Regions from separate parts of the Homo sapiens genome. Here region 2 is linked to region 1. Evidence: promoter capture Hi-C in 16 types of primary human blood cells and fetal thymus (Javierre and others, 2016). All regions are on one chromosome and are shown on one strand. The core of a region is centred on a gene start or on the middle of the fragment in contact, and the rest is flanking DNA. Distances in the headings are between cores, read along the strand shown. Region 1 holds the start of KLF12 (KLF transcription factor 12). Region 2 overlaps KLF12 (KLF transcription factor 12).

The links. Contacts are between HindIII fragments. The CHiCAGO score rates a contact against its expected background, and 5 or more counts as called.
Region 2: a fragment that was not itself captured here is called in contact with the fragment with the promoter of KLF12 in region 1 in 6 of 17 cell types (non-activated CD4 T cells, fetal thymus, activated CD4 T cells and 3 more); the score reaches 8.1 in non-activated CD4 T cells.

The regions. Positions count from the first base shown.
Region 1 is chr13:74,130,514-74,136,237 of GRCh38, reverse strand. KLF12 (KLF transcription factor 12) reads left to right here and starts at 1,834. Exons shown (of 8, transcript NM_001400136.1): 1 at 1,834-2,266. RefSeq lists a silencer at 338-2,087 and enhancers at 3,097-3,146, 3,177-3,356. The HindIII fragment of the contact is 3,671 bases long and covers 455-4,125 here.
Region 2 is chr13:73,829,753-73,835,855 of GRCh38, reverse strand. All of the region lies in intron 4 of KLF12 (KLF transcription factor 12), which reads left to right. Among named protein-coding and RNA genes, the nearest start is that of LINC00393, 170 kb to the right of the region's middle. The HindIII fragment of the contact is 1,761 bases long and covers 3,575-5,335 here.

The DNA of each region.
Region 1 (5,724 bases), core at 585-3,084:
CCCTCACCCCCGAGTCCCACTGGGTTCCCGACGCCCTCGCTGCGCCCGCGCCTTCCCGCTCCCGCCGCTGAGGCTACTTCACTCGAGCAGTGCTCCACAAATTTCAGACATTTCTTCCTCTTCGAAACCTCAAGACCAGGACAGACCCCTCCTCTGAATCCTGCTGCCTTCCTAAGACGCATCTTAGGCTGTGGGACCCCTCCTCTAGGTTGGACCACCCATCCCATTTTCCCCAGAACCTAGGAGTGGCAAGAGGCAGAGAACGCACCAGGCAGACGCCGCCTTTGTTGTCATTAGGAACGCACACCGCGCCTGAAGTGGCTGGAAACCGCCACACCGATGGGGAGCCCAGCTGGCCCTGGCTCACATTCGTGCCTTCGTTCTCATTTCCTGTTTCTCGGCCTCTCCCTTGTTTCTCTTCCCACCCCACTCCACGCCACAGTACAGCAAAGCTTTCTCTCTGCACACAAACTTCCCCTTCCCGGCCTTCCCACAGCCCTGGCGATTTCCCACGCGGGGCGGGCCGGGCCGGGGGCGCGGGGCAGGGGAATACTGTCGTGCCCGGAGCGCCGCGCTCACCTAGGATGGTGAGGAGGCGGGCCCACAGCCTCCCGCCTCCGTCCGCCGCGCGCCCCGCCCGCCCGGCCGCTTCCGCCCCGTCTGCTCCCCGCCCCCGCCGACCCTCCGGCTCGGCGCTGACCCCGCGCCCTCCGAGCCGCCGCGGGAACTGCAGGGCCGCCCGGCCGCCTCCTCCCTCTCCCGCCCCACAATCCCGCGGATCCGCTCCCCGGGGCGCGGAGGCGGGGAGGGAGGGGCTGCCGGGGAGAGCGTCAAGGACTCGGCTCCGGGCCGTCCGCTTCTTGGGGCTCCGCTCTGGGCGTGGGGCAGTGGAGCTGGACTCCCTTCCCCGCCGCCCCCGGGCCCCGCGGGGGTCTGCAGATCCCGCTTCCTCTGCCCCAGTCCTCCAAGTTTGCGTGCTTTCCCACAGAACTGGCGCAGGCAGGGGCCCCTTCGCTGGGGTGGCGAGGCCAGGCGCGCATCTCCGCCTCGCCCCCATTCATCCCGCCAAGGTGAAGCGCAGGGAAAAGGGGCGCCCCCGCTTCGCCCGCAACGTGCGTCGCTCCGGAACCCAAACAATGACTCCCCTGCCTGCCGCGCCCGGCCCTCCGCCCGCCCCACCGGCGCGCGGGGGGCACCGCCCGCGGGGCTGCCCCTGCCTGACCCCATTGTTGCCCGGCGCGGGCGATGCCCGGCGCCCAGGGGCGGTCCCCGCGAGCTGCCCCACAGTCCCGGCCGGCTCCGCCCACACCTTTCCAAGTTCGCTGGCGGGCGAGCCGCGGGGACGACCCGGGCGACAGCCCCCTCCCTCCACTGCGCGCCCCCACCCGGGCGGGTGCGGCGAGGGGTGGGGGCCCAAGCGGGCTGCACGCTTTTTGGGTCCCCGAATTCTCCTAAGCCTGTCTGGCGCGCTCTGACACAAAAGAGGAGACTTTCTCGCGGCTCGGCGCGAGTCCTTGCCCAGCGAGTTGCTCTCCAGGGGTCCCTCCCGCCGCAAGCCCCCGCGGGCCCCCTCGGCCGACGACTCCCCGAGCTCCCAGGGCCATGTGTGGGTTATTTGGGGTGCCGCAGCAAAGTGGTGCAGGTGAAAGGGAAGCGCTGCCGAGGCCCGGGGCCGGAGGGCGGGGGCAGGGGTGGGGCGGGGTGGGGCGGGGTGGAGGCGCCGCGGACCCAGCCCGGCGGTCCGGGCGGGGAGGCGAGGGCCGGGCAGTGGGTGTTGCCTTCTACCTCTGCGAGCGGGGAGGGGTTAGTTTCCCACAGGGGATTTCAACCATCACACTCAGAGCCCGCCTCCTAATCCTCGGGCGGAGCGGCTCGGGGGCCCCATTTTATGGCAATAAAGCGACTTAGCGCCTGCTGAGCGAGCCCCTCCCCGCCGCCGCCCCCGCCCTCGGCCCCACCCCGGGGCTCGCCGGCAGCGGCGGGGCTTTGTTTCTGGGGAGGAGGACCCGGAGCTCTTTTGTTTGGGGGTTTCTTGTTTTCGGCCCCCCCCCTCACAGCACCCCACCCCACCCCACCCCAAGCGCCTCTCCGGTTTCCTGAGCTGCGGGCTGCGAGGGAGGAGAAGCGGCGTCCTGCAACCCCCTCGGCTGGGCCCCGGGGTAATTCGATGCGGGCCTGGCGAGGCTCCCCACACTAGACCGGGGCTCGCAACTCGGCAGCCTCCACCCACCGGCCCACCCTACATTTAGCGCATCATGTGATCCGGGTAAGTCATTTGCAAGTACAACAGTTCCCCGGGTTGCCCCCCATTCATTTCCTGAGAACTGCAGAGAGCCGCTGAGAGGCTCTGCGTGTGCGTGTGCGCGGGTGACGCCGTGTGTGTGCGAGTGTGTGTGTGTGTGTGCGCGCGCGCGTGTGAGAGAGAGAAAGGGAGAGAGAGAGGGGGACTCTGTGTGAGGGAAAGAAAACAATTTCTCCTGCTCTGCAGCTTCTGTTCAGGTCTGTGCCGATTCCGTTTCTTATCAAAATAAACAACCCCCTCCTCTTTTTTTTTTTTTTTTGCCATCCCAAATCAGACCGTATTCTCTTAACGTGTTTTATTTTCCTTCTGTCATCTGCTCAAGTTAAATCATTTTGGTTGGTCTGTGTTCTTAAAGGGGGAAAGTGCTGGGAAGCGGGAGGGGGCCGGGGAAGGGCGATGCTGTTGCAAAGCAAGTAGCGTCGGTCGGATTCGTGGAGAAGAAAGAAGGAGGTTTCTTCCCCACCTCCCCTAATTTTTTTTTTCCAGAAGAAGTTATCAAGTAACGTGAATTAAGCAAGTGTTTTTCTACCCCTAGTGGAATTGTTGGTTGCAGTGTTTGCCTGACAGTTGCCAAGGATGTGAAATAAAACCCCAGGGCTGAACTTGGGGGGGAGGGGGGGCTCGTGGAAGTAGTTGGCCCCCCGGCCTCGAGCGGGGTGGATGAATAGCTCCGCACCGGGACCGTGTGGGCTGTGTGTGCGCGCTGGAGAGAGTGGAGGGGAAGGGGTTAAGGCGGAGATGACACTGCTGGCATGAATAGTGCTCCTGGTGCTACATTCATTATTGTCTCTGGTCGTAATGATGTGTAACTGTCACTTGCTACAGTGCCTGGTCCATGCAAGTAGCCAGGGGCTGGCCGGTGGCTGTTATTTTCAATTACGGGGGACCTGGCCGGAGTTGACAAGGGGCAACTTTGTACGTCCACCCGGGCCGGGAACCCGCAGAGCCGGCCTGGGAGCCACTTCTTGCCTCAGAAGCTCACTCTGAGGGTTCAGACTTGACCTCCGCGACATTAGTTGGTGTTCACGTTAGATGCTCCCCTACGGGGAGAATCAGTCCTGCTTTTGTTGGGTAGCGAGCTGTCTGCAAGAACTTTGAAAACTTTTATCTTTGGGGAAAAGGGTGGGGTGCACTCAACAGTTTTGTTTCGCAGTGCATTTGAGGCAAATGCTTGGAAAAAGTACCAATTCCTTTGTTATATGCCCTGCAGCTTCCCAACCCCCTTCACCCTGCGCTTCGAGTTTTGCATACTTTAATAGTAATAGTCTTATTTCAGCTGATAAAAGCTGACTGTGTTGAGTTAAAGAGTATTAATACAACGGAATGTGTAATCTGGATAAACAGTTTGCGTAGTTAGTATTGTCAGCACTCTAATTTAACTGTATAGATGGCTAAAGTGTCGTTCTGTATGGATTGTTTTAGATAATTCCACTGGCTAATGGAATTCTCGGCGAGCACTCTGATATTTTATTTTACACCAGCGTTAAGATTCTCTGTTTCCCTGTAACATCGGAGAGACGAGCAACTCTATTTACATTTAGTGCGTGTGCATCTAGTGACTTCGGTAGACATCTGCCAATCAAATACACGTCATTCTGCAAAACCACCTAGACGCCTCCATGCCCTTTTCTTACTGGACGATAGAGTTGTTTAGATAAGTAAATGCTTTGAAATAAATTTGGTGGCTTTTAGCAAGAAGCAGCTTGTGATGGGAATAGGAGTGGTCACTTTGAGGAGTGGGTGTATACCGTCTTCTAAGAAACGCTTTTAGAACTGACATTTATTTAAAACAGTGGACCCCCCCTCCCTCAAGGAAAAAAGCTTGCTTGTGCTATTCTCAGACCTCATTCACATGTTGTGTGCATTTTTTAAGACCACATAGAAATTGGTTCCGATAAAGGAGTATACTTTTAGGTTAGAAAATTTCAAACTGTAGAAGCATAGTGGAAATAGGATGTTGAAGGACAGACGTTTCAGTTGGGTAAGTTATATCTTTATTGTTGCAGACGGGTCTTGATACTAGATTGAATATATTAAGCTCCTTTGAGTTGGGGAAAGAGCAATTTGAGCATATAAAAATTAGGAAAGCAGTTTATTATTCTGCCAATTTAATAACTATTATGAAATGTACTGGGAAAATTTGAAATTTGAAATGTTTTCACATAAAATTTTCATAATTTTGAACTAAGACCATGTAACCAACATGGCTATGTCAGGTTAAACAAAACATTCTTGAGGGTTTCTGTTTATTTTTGAAAACCTTCAGTTATTTATCTACTACTTAGCAATGCAGTCAGCTGAACTTTATTGTGGAATGCTTTTTATTACTGTTTATTGAAAAAAATTGTTGTGCTAATGAGTCCTTAATATTCTCCACCTCCCACTCCCCAGAAGTTCTTTTTACAGCAATGACTATCATTTGGGAGTAAATGGTCCTGGTATAGCATTTGAGACCTTGACCTTAGCAACTCTTGGCTGGTGGTTGTTTACTACAGCTGCAGCCTATGTGTGTGCTGAAAGGGAAGGTCTGCAAACACTAGTGTACTCACTCTCCCCAGGCCAAAGGGAGAACAAATCGGGATGCTTGACGTTCATTCTGAAGAACATGCATCTGGCCTGTAATATCCATCGTGTTCTGGTCATGTGAAAATATACATGTTGCTCAGGGATATTTTCCCTGACTCCTGTTCAGGGAAAGTATGCACTTTAACAGGCTCCAGTGAGTTTTAGATGTTACAGTATATCATGAAACAGGCTGTTATCAACTTACTGAAATAATTTGGCCTTAAATATAGGTGTGTTTTATCTCTGCAGAGACAACGTAAGTGCTTAGGCCTCTAGGCCTATGCTGAGAGCATTTTGAATTCAAGCCAGTGTTGGTTAATCTAGAGTTTGGGGTAACCTTACCCAGTGAAGGCATATTGTTAAGTAGATGAACATATAGAGGTCCTGGACATTTTTTCCATTGTACAACATGGAAAGCATGGGACTTTATGTTTTTGCAAATTAATAATATTACAATGATCACATTAAATTGGAGTGTCAAATGGTTTGTTTTCTTTATATTGTGAGAGAAGCAGTCAAGTTCATAAATCTAGCTGTAGATTGTGTATTAAACTATAAAACTAGTAATGGCACAAACTCATTTGAAAAGTTTTTGTTTATAAGTTTTTCTGCTTGCCACTTGCATGCTGATTAATGAACATGAGCTAAAATCCCAAGACAGTTTTATTCAAAATCAACACCATTATTACCTTTTCTGCTTAGAAAACAGCTTTTTTTTTTTTTTTGAGTTGAGGTCTCACTCTGTCACCCAGGCGGGACTGCAGTGGCATCATCATAGCTCAAATTCCCGGGCTCAAGGGATCCTCCCACCTTAGCCTCCCAAGTAGGCAGGACTACAGGTGCACACTGCCACACCC
Region 2 (6,103 bases), core at 3,206-5,705, 300 kb after region 1:
TCACAATGAGTGATTTTAAAGAAATGAAATAGAATGGAGTAGGTTGAAAAGTATCTGAGAGTGTCACCCAAATAAATATTATTCCATGAAACTTTTGTTCATTAACTTGTTTACATATATGCAAATGTGGTACTGCGGGCAGGGGGTGTGTATATATACTAGTCATGCTGAAATACGTATTTCTTACTGTGGTTCCTGTCCAAAAAGTTTCAGAGAGACCCCACTGCATCTCTCCTTGCTTTCACTCAGCCCCTTCCCTTTTCCTTGCCCTTTCTGCACCTCCCTTTCAAAGTAACCCCCTCAGTTCTAACACCTTTTTTCTCTCACCTTCCCTCCATTTTTCTGTCTTCTTCCTTTTCTCAGTTGTTTTTCTCTGTCTCCCTCCACTCCTCACCATTCTACCTTTTTCTGAGTCTTGATTTTTCTCTTTCATATCAACCAAATCACCTTTTCCAGAAGTCATGTAATATGGAACCATGAGACCTGTAATGAAAAGGACAGTCTTTTTATTGCCATCTAGTGGCAGAATTTTAAAATGACATGAACTGAAAGACACGAGAACTCTAGGTAATCTAGTTATTTTTTCTACCATGCCCCTAATTATTTTTTCTTCCATGCCCCCGGATTTTCCCAGCTAGTTTAGTGTTGCAAGACAGTGTGGTGAATATGACCCTTTTAAGTAAAACTCAAACCTGAATTCGAGACCTAAGTTATCTACTTTGTTTTTAGACTTCGAGAGTATGAAAATTTTTTAGGACTATATTTGATTTGGGCCAAAAAAAAAAAAAAGGTTTAACTTCTACCCGCTTATCCCACTTCCCATCCTATACATTTGCATGTGACTCTATTCAGTGGAAATAAAAATGCTGCATTCTGTGTATCTGTGCTTAGTGTTTTTTAAAACTATGGATTAGGTTTGTTGGCTAAATGGAAGCGTATATATGGCAACTTGTGTGCTACTAGGAAGTTTTGCTGAGAGGTGAACCCACTGAGCAAGGATACCAGTGCCCTAGAATGTCAGAGAGAGAAAATAAAATTAAAATGGACCAGGCACAGTGGCTCACGCCTGTAATTTCAGCACTTTGGGAGGCTGTGGCGGGTGGATCACTTGAGGTCAGAAGTTCGAGACCAGCCTAGCCAACATGGCGAAACCTCGTCTCTACGAAGAATACAAAAATTAGCCGGGCATGGTGGCATACGCCTTGTAATCCCAGCTACTTGGGAGGCTGAGGCACAGGAATTGGCTGAACCTGAAAGGCAAAGGTTGCAGTGAGCCGAGATCATACCACTGCACCCTGGCGTAGGAAACAGAATGAGACTCTGTCTCATAAAAGTAAAATAAAATAAGATAAAATGAAAATAAATGCAATGGACAGTTATGTCTTGGGACAGAAAGAGTTCAGGAAAACAGAATGTAGGAAAACTTAGTAAAACTGAGAGAACTAGGAATAGCCCTTGGAGAATTCATCAGATAAACTGCCTTTTCAAATACTAGGGTCTTAGGAGTTCAGTAGGAGCATGGTAGAATTAGAAGAAGGGTAATTCTTTGCTAGGTATATGGGTTTCTCAGTTCTTTGGGGAGAGAAAGATATAGCAGGACTTGGGTAACGTATAGTAAGAATAAGCTCCTCTGCTGAGAACTGTGGTGCTTATATAATGTGGTTTATATTGTTATAAATGCTCATTTCTAAAATAAAGAGGTTGTGGTGGGGGGAGGAGGTGTTCTCCCCGAATTCTACACTACAATTTAAGCTCCATGAAAGTACCATTTAAGCCTCATTAGCTAATATTTCCCCAACATCGTGTTTGACACTAGTAAATGCTCAATAAATATTTACTGAAGAGATGGATGAAGAAATGAATGCATTAATGTGGGAAACACTGCAGGAACAGTGTTTTGTGTGAGATGCTTAGGAATGCTGTGTGGCCAGTGTAGACGTGCAGTCTGAACCCTGACAGTAGAATAAACCTTCCCATGGTGAAATAGGAGGCTGCCAAAACATAACATGTAACCAGCAAGCCTCCGCACGTCCTCACATCTACCTCACATACTACCCCTCCCTCTCAGTCTGTTGCCATTCCACCAAATACATCTCACGTCCCAGCCATGTTGCGTGGCCCTTCAGGTGACATTCTACCTTTATCCATGTAGAAAGCAAAGGGAAGCCTTTTCTTTCTCTGACAAAAGATCTGGCTCAAATGCCTTCTTTTCTGAAACAGTACATACCAAATTGTAAGGCAATTCATATACCACCACCACCCCCACAAACACACACACATCATCTTTTCTCATTGCCTTACTGCCTTATCCAACATCTGGCACACAATAAACACTCTTAAGTGCAGAATGAGTGAATACCATCCCCCAAGCTGTTGCTGTGGTATGTCAATCTGTAGTCGCCTGGTGTTCTTGAATACATTGTTTCTGCTGTTTCCCTAGTTGTTTTATTTTGTAGCACTTAATATTAGAGAATAATGTTTGGTGGTACCTTATAGATACTTGATGTGATTTAGGTTTTAGTAGTTTCTGGAGATGAACTCCTGTGGGTAAGAAATATTCTTTGGGCTTCCAAACAGTCTTAATACGTAGATATTGCTGTATGAAAATTGTAGTCAGTTCTTATTTATTCTTTTACTCTCAGGTAAAATATTTTACCTGTGAAACTAGGATAACTAATAGCTTTGATTGGATCCAGGCAATTAATAGAATCTGCTAAGTTTCTTATATAATAGTAACGCCAATTTCATTTCCCACTCAGGGCGAAACAAATTATGCCTCCTACCCCACTGCAGTTAACTGCATCAGCATCATGATGCCATAAAATCTGAAAACTGTGGAGTATGAGTAATCCCACTATAAATTGTAATAAAAATTACCTCTCCAGACTCTATATTCTCTCCATTAAGTTCATAGGCAGTGTCTCTTTGTACATAAAGTTTTATGAAATAAATCGACCATTTTTCCTGTCCTTAGCAGATAGCAAGCTGTTTTGATTTAAAAGCTGATAATGGTACAATCAGTTTTTGGTGTTTGTAGAGCATTTTAAAAGCATAAATTTCCTTTAACAAACCTTAAGTAGAAGGGAAATGCTACTTTGCTACTTTTATTTGTACCACAGAGTTAAATATCTCTCTGTGAGAAAGAATAAATGATGTATTTAGCATGGTGGGCCCATTTGTTGCATCCATAAAACAAAGATTTGGTTTTCCTCCTCAGTTCTCTGATCTTAAAAACGTATTAAGTAAACCGCAGCACGAATCTAAAATAGCTTTGTCTGAATTGTTTCCAGTGTTCTGTGTTTAGAAGGCATTTTCAATTTCTTGATTGCTTTTTTGTCTCTTCTGTGCTAAATCCAAGGGCTCCCCCTAATCATCTCCGGTGTGGCCTTTGTCAGACGTGAATGCTGTGAATCAGTCCTCTGTAAACACAGAGACCTTTTAAACAGAGGAAACCTTCTAGAGGCCTAGGTTGTAAATCTCCAGAGAACATGAACTAGACTCTGGAGGAAGTCTTACATTATAAGAAGGGGAGAGTAGGTGGCATTTGAGGCGAAAGTTGGAGAAGCGTAAAGCTTTGGTACTCAAAGTAGGTAGGAGTGTTTCAGACCAGGAAAAGAGTAAATAATGAGAGTAGAGAATGGAGGGCACACAAAGAATGAGGAATACTGTGCTTGTACTGGAAAGTAGCCCATGAGGTCACCTCCCACACAGACACTGCATATGATACAAAATATGTTGTCTACATTACATGTACTCTATGTTACTTATAGGAAAGGACTCAAGATCCTCCGTCTTTCAAAGCATTTTAACTCTTGGCTTGGATATATTTGTTATGTTCTTTGTGAATATAATTTTCTAACCACGTAAGTAGAGAATAGCAAATAAAAATGCAAAGAAAAATAAGTGATAGGAATATTTCTCAATCGTTATTTTTATAACTTGGGTTCCCCAAAATGTCTTCTCAGTAGATTTTTATGGATGCCCAATAGTCACAAAATTTTGTAGCACTTCTCTTTCTGTAGATTTTGTTACTGAAAGAAAATAGATCTACTGATTTTGCTTTACCAGTTTATAGATGCTGAATACCTCCTGAGATTCTCATCTGCCAATTCCCTTCCCAAATTAGGAAACTCCCTTTATCTGTAGGGGCACTGAGGGTAAAAAAGTGGCAGCCAGCAAAGAAAACGTCAAAATTATTATTAAAACAAGAACTTGAATAATTGCAGCAAGGTCTTTCTGGATGGGAGCAAACAGGCTAACACGGCGCTTTAGTCCTTGGAGAGAATACTTTATTACAGCGTAATAATTGCTTTTGAAATAATGACCATTAGTAATGAAAGAAAGGTTAAATTATCATCAGTCCATTTGAAAAAGGTAGCAAAGTATGTAATAAATCTTGTAAATATATTTATTAAAAATCATTTAAATAATATTAAATAACCTTTATAGAGTGCTTATATGTTCTTTCTGCTTTACATATGTTATCTTTAAGCCTGACAATAACCAACATGTAGATATTATTGTCAGTGTTTTGCAATGAGAAAACTAAGACTCATATCACTTTCTGTACCACTTATAAGGGCACAGCTTAAGAGTGGTAGAGCCTTGAATTAAGTCAGAATTTCTAAATACTCCATAGCCATTTTGCTGTACTTAGGCTTGATGCTTTAAAAAGTATGCCTTAATTATCTAGAGAATGTGTCAGTTTTAAATATCCAATTCCATAATTCCTCAAATTAGGTGGCATTATGTTTTTAAATCATTCAGTTTTTTGACAAGGATTAAAATTTATTATATATGAAATCTATTCTGTATGTAAAATAAGTATGCGTGTGTGTGTGTGTGTGTGTGTGTGTGTGTGTGTATGAATTGCGTGAGGTAATTCCATGTTGCTAAATATTGATATTATAGTACTGTATCATGTATTTTCATTTCTTTAGCATCCTGCAGCCTGAAAAACAACAGCCTTAAGCTGTAGGTTAACATTTCTAGGTGCAGGGAAATTTAGTCAAAGTGTGGTTCACTGCGTTTCAGAGATCGACATCCATGTCATTTTTAGACATATCTGGCCCCTGCCTAGAGCTCTTTTGAGCAGGGAATTGGTTAGAAAGACATATACAACACAGACACGCCTGTTCTATCTTGCCTCGTTGTGGTAGTAGTAATTTTCTGGAAGACACAAGGGGAAACTACAAAAATAAAGACACGGCCAACATTTATTATTACTGTTATAATTATATTTATTTTTCTTAGATTAATGAGTTCAATAAAATTCTGAGCACTAGCCAATAGCTAATAATCATTATAACATTACAGTTTTAGAATTATCCAAGCTTATATAGCAGATGTTCAGAAATGCCTTCTTCAAAATTGGAAAATGAATTCAATAAAGTGTGTGTTTGGTTATGGAGAATAGCTTCATAGTAAAATCTGGCATTTTCCAGTTTTTGTTTCAGTGTCTTTTCAGAGCCATATAGTATCTTTTCTGTTTTTGTAGTTCTCTATTATTTATTAAGTTTATCAAAGAGTGAAAGATCTTGCCTGCTGTCCAAAATGTGTTGGTATCATGATATGTCATAGGAAGTATTTTCTGTCACGTTCTGGAAGTTATGGTTATAGTAGATCATTACCCATTTATCATCTAACAAATGAGTGCTCACTGGTGATGCACTGCTTAGTGGCATTATTGTGCCCATTGGTATAATCTACAGTAATCAAGATAGTATAACCTCCAATTATGTGTTTTATTATCTCATTATCCACCTTGCAACTAATGCAACTATTAACAAGCACATTTCTTGCCTGTCTTGGCCAATTGTGATTACTTTAATAGTCACCATGATAAGTCCTTCATACTTAAACCTCCTTTCAATCATAATTTACACTAGTTTTAACTATATAATTTTGTGTGATCTGATATAAACAGAGGATTACAGTTTTGTCCATTTACAAGTCTAAATAAGCCACTGAATGGTTTATAACTATTTTTCAGTATTGTGTTCTATATTTATAATTATGAAGAACGTTGAGAATGCAATCATCCTTAATAGCAAGAGTAAGCCACCACAGACTTTTTTAGCATTATTTATTCATTCCATACCTT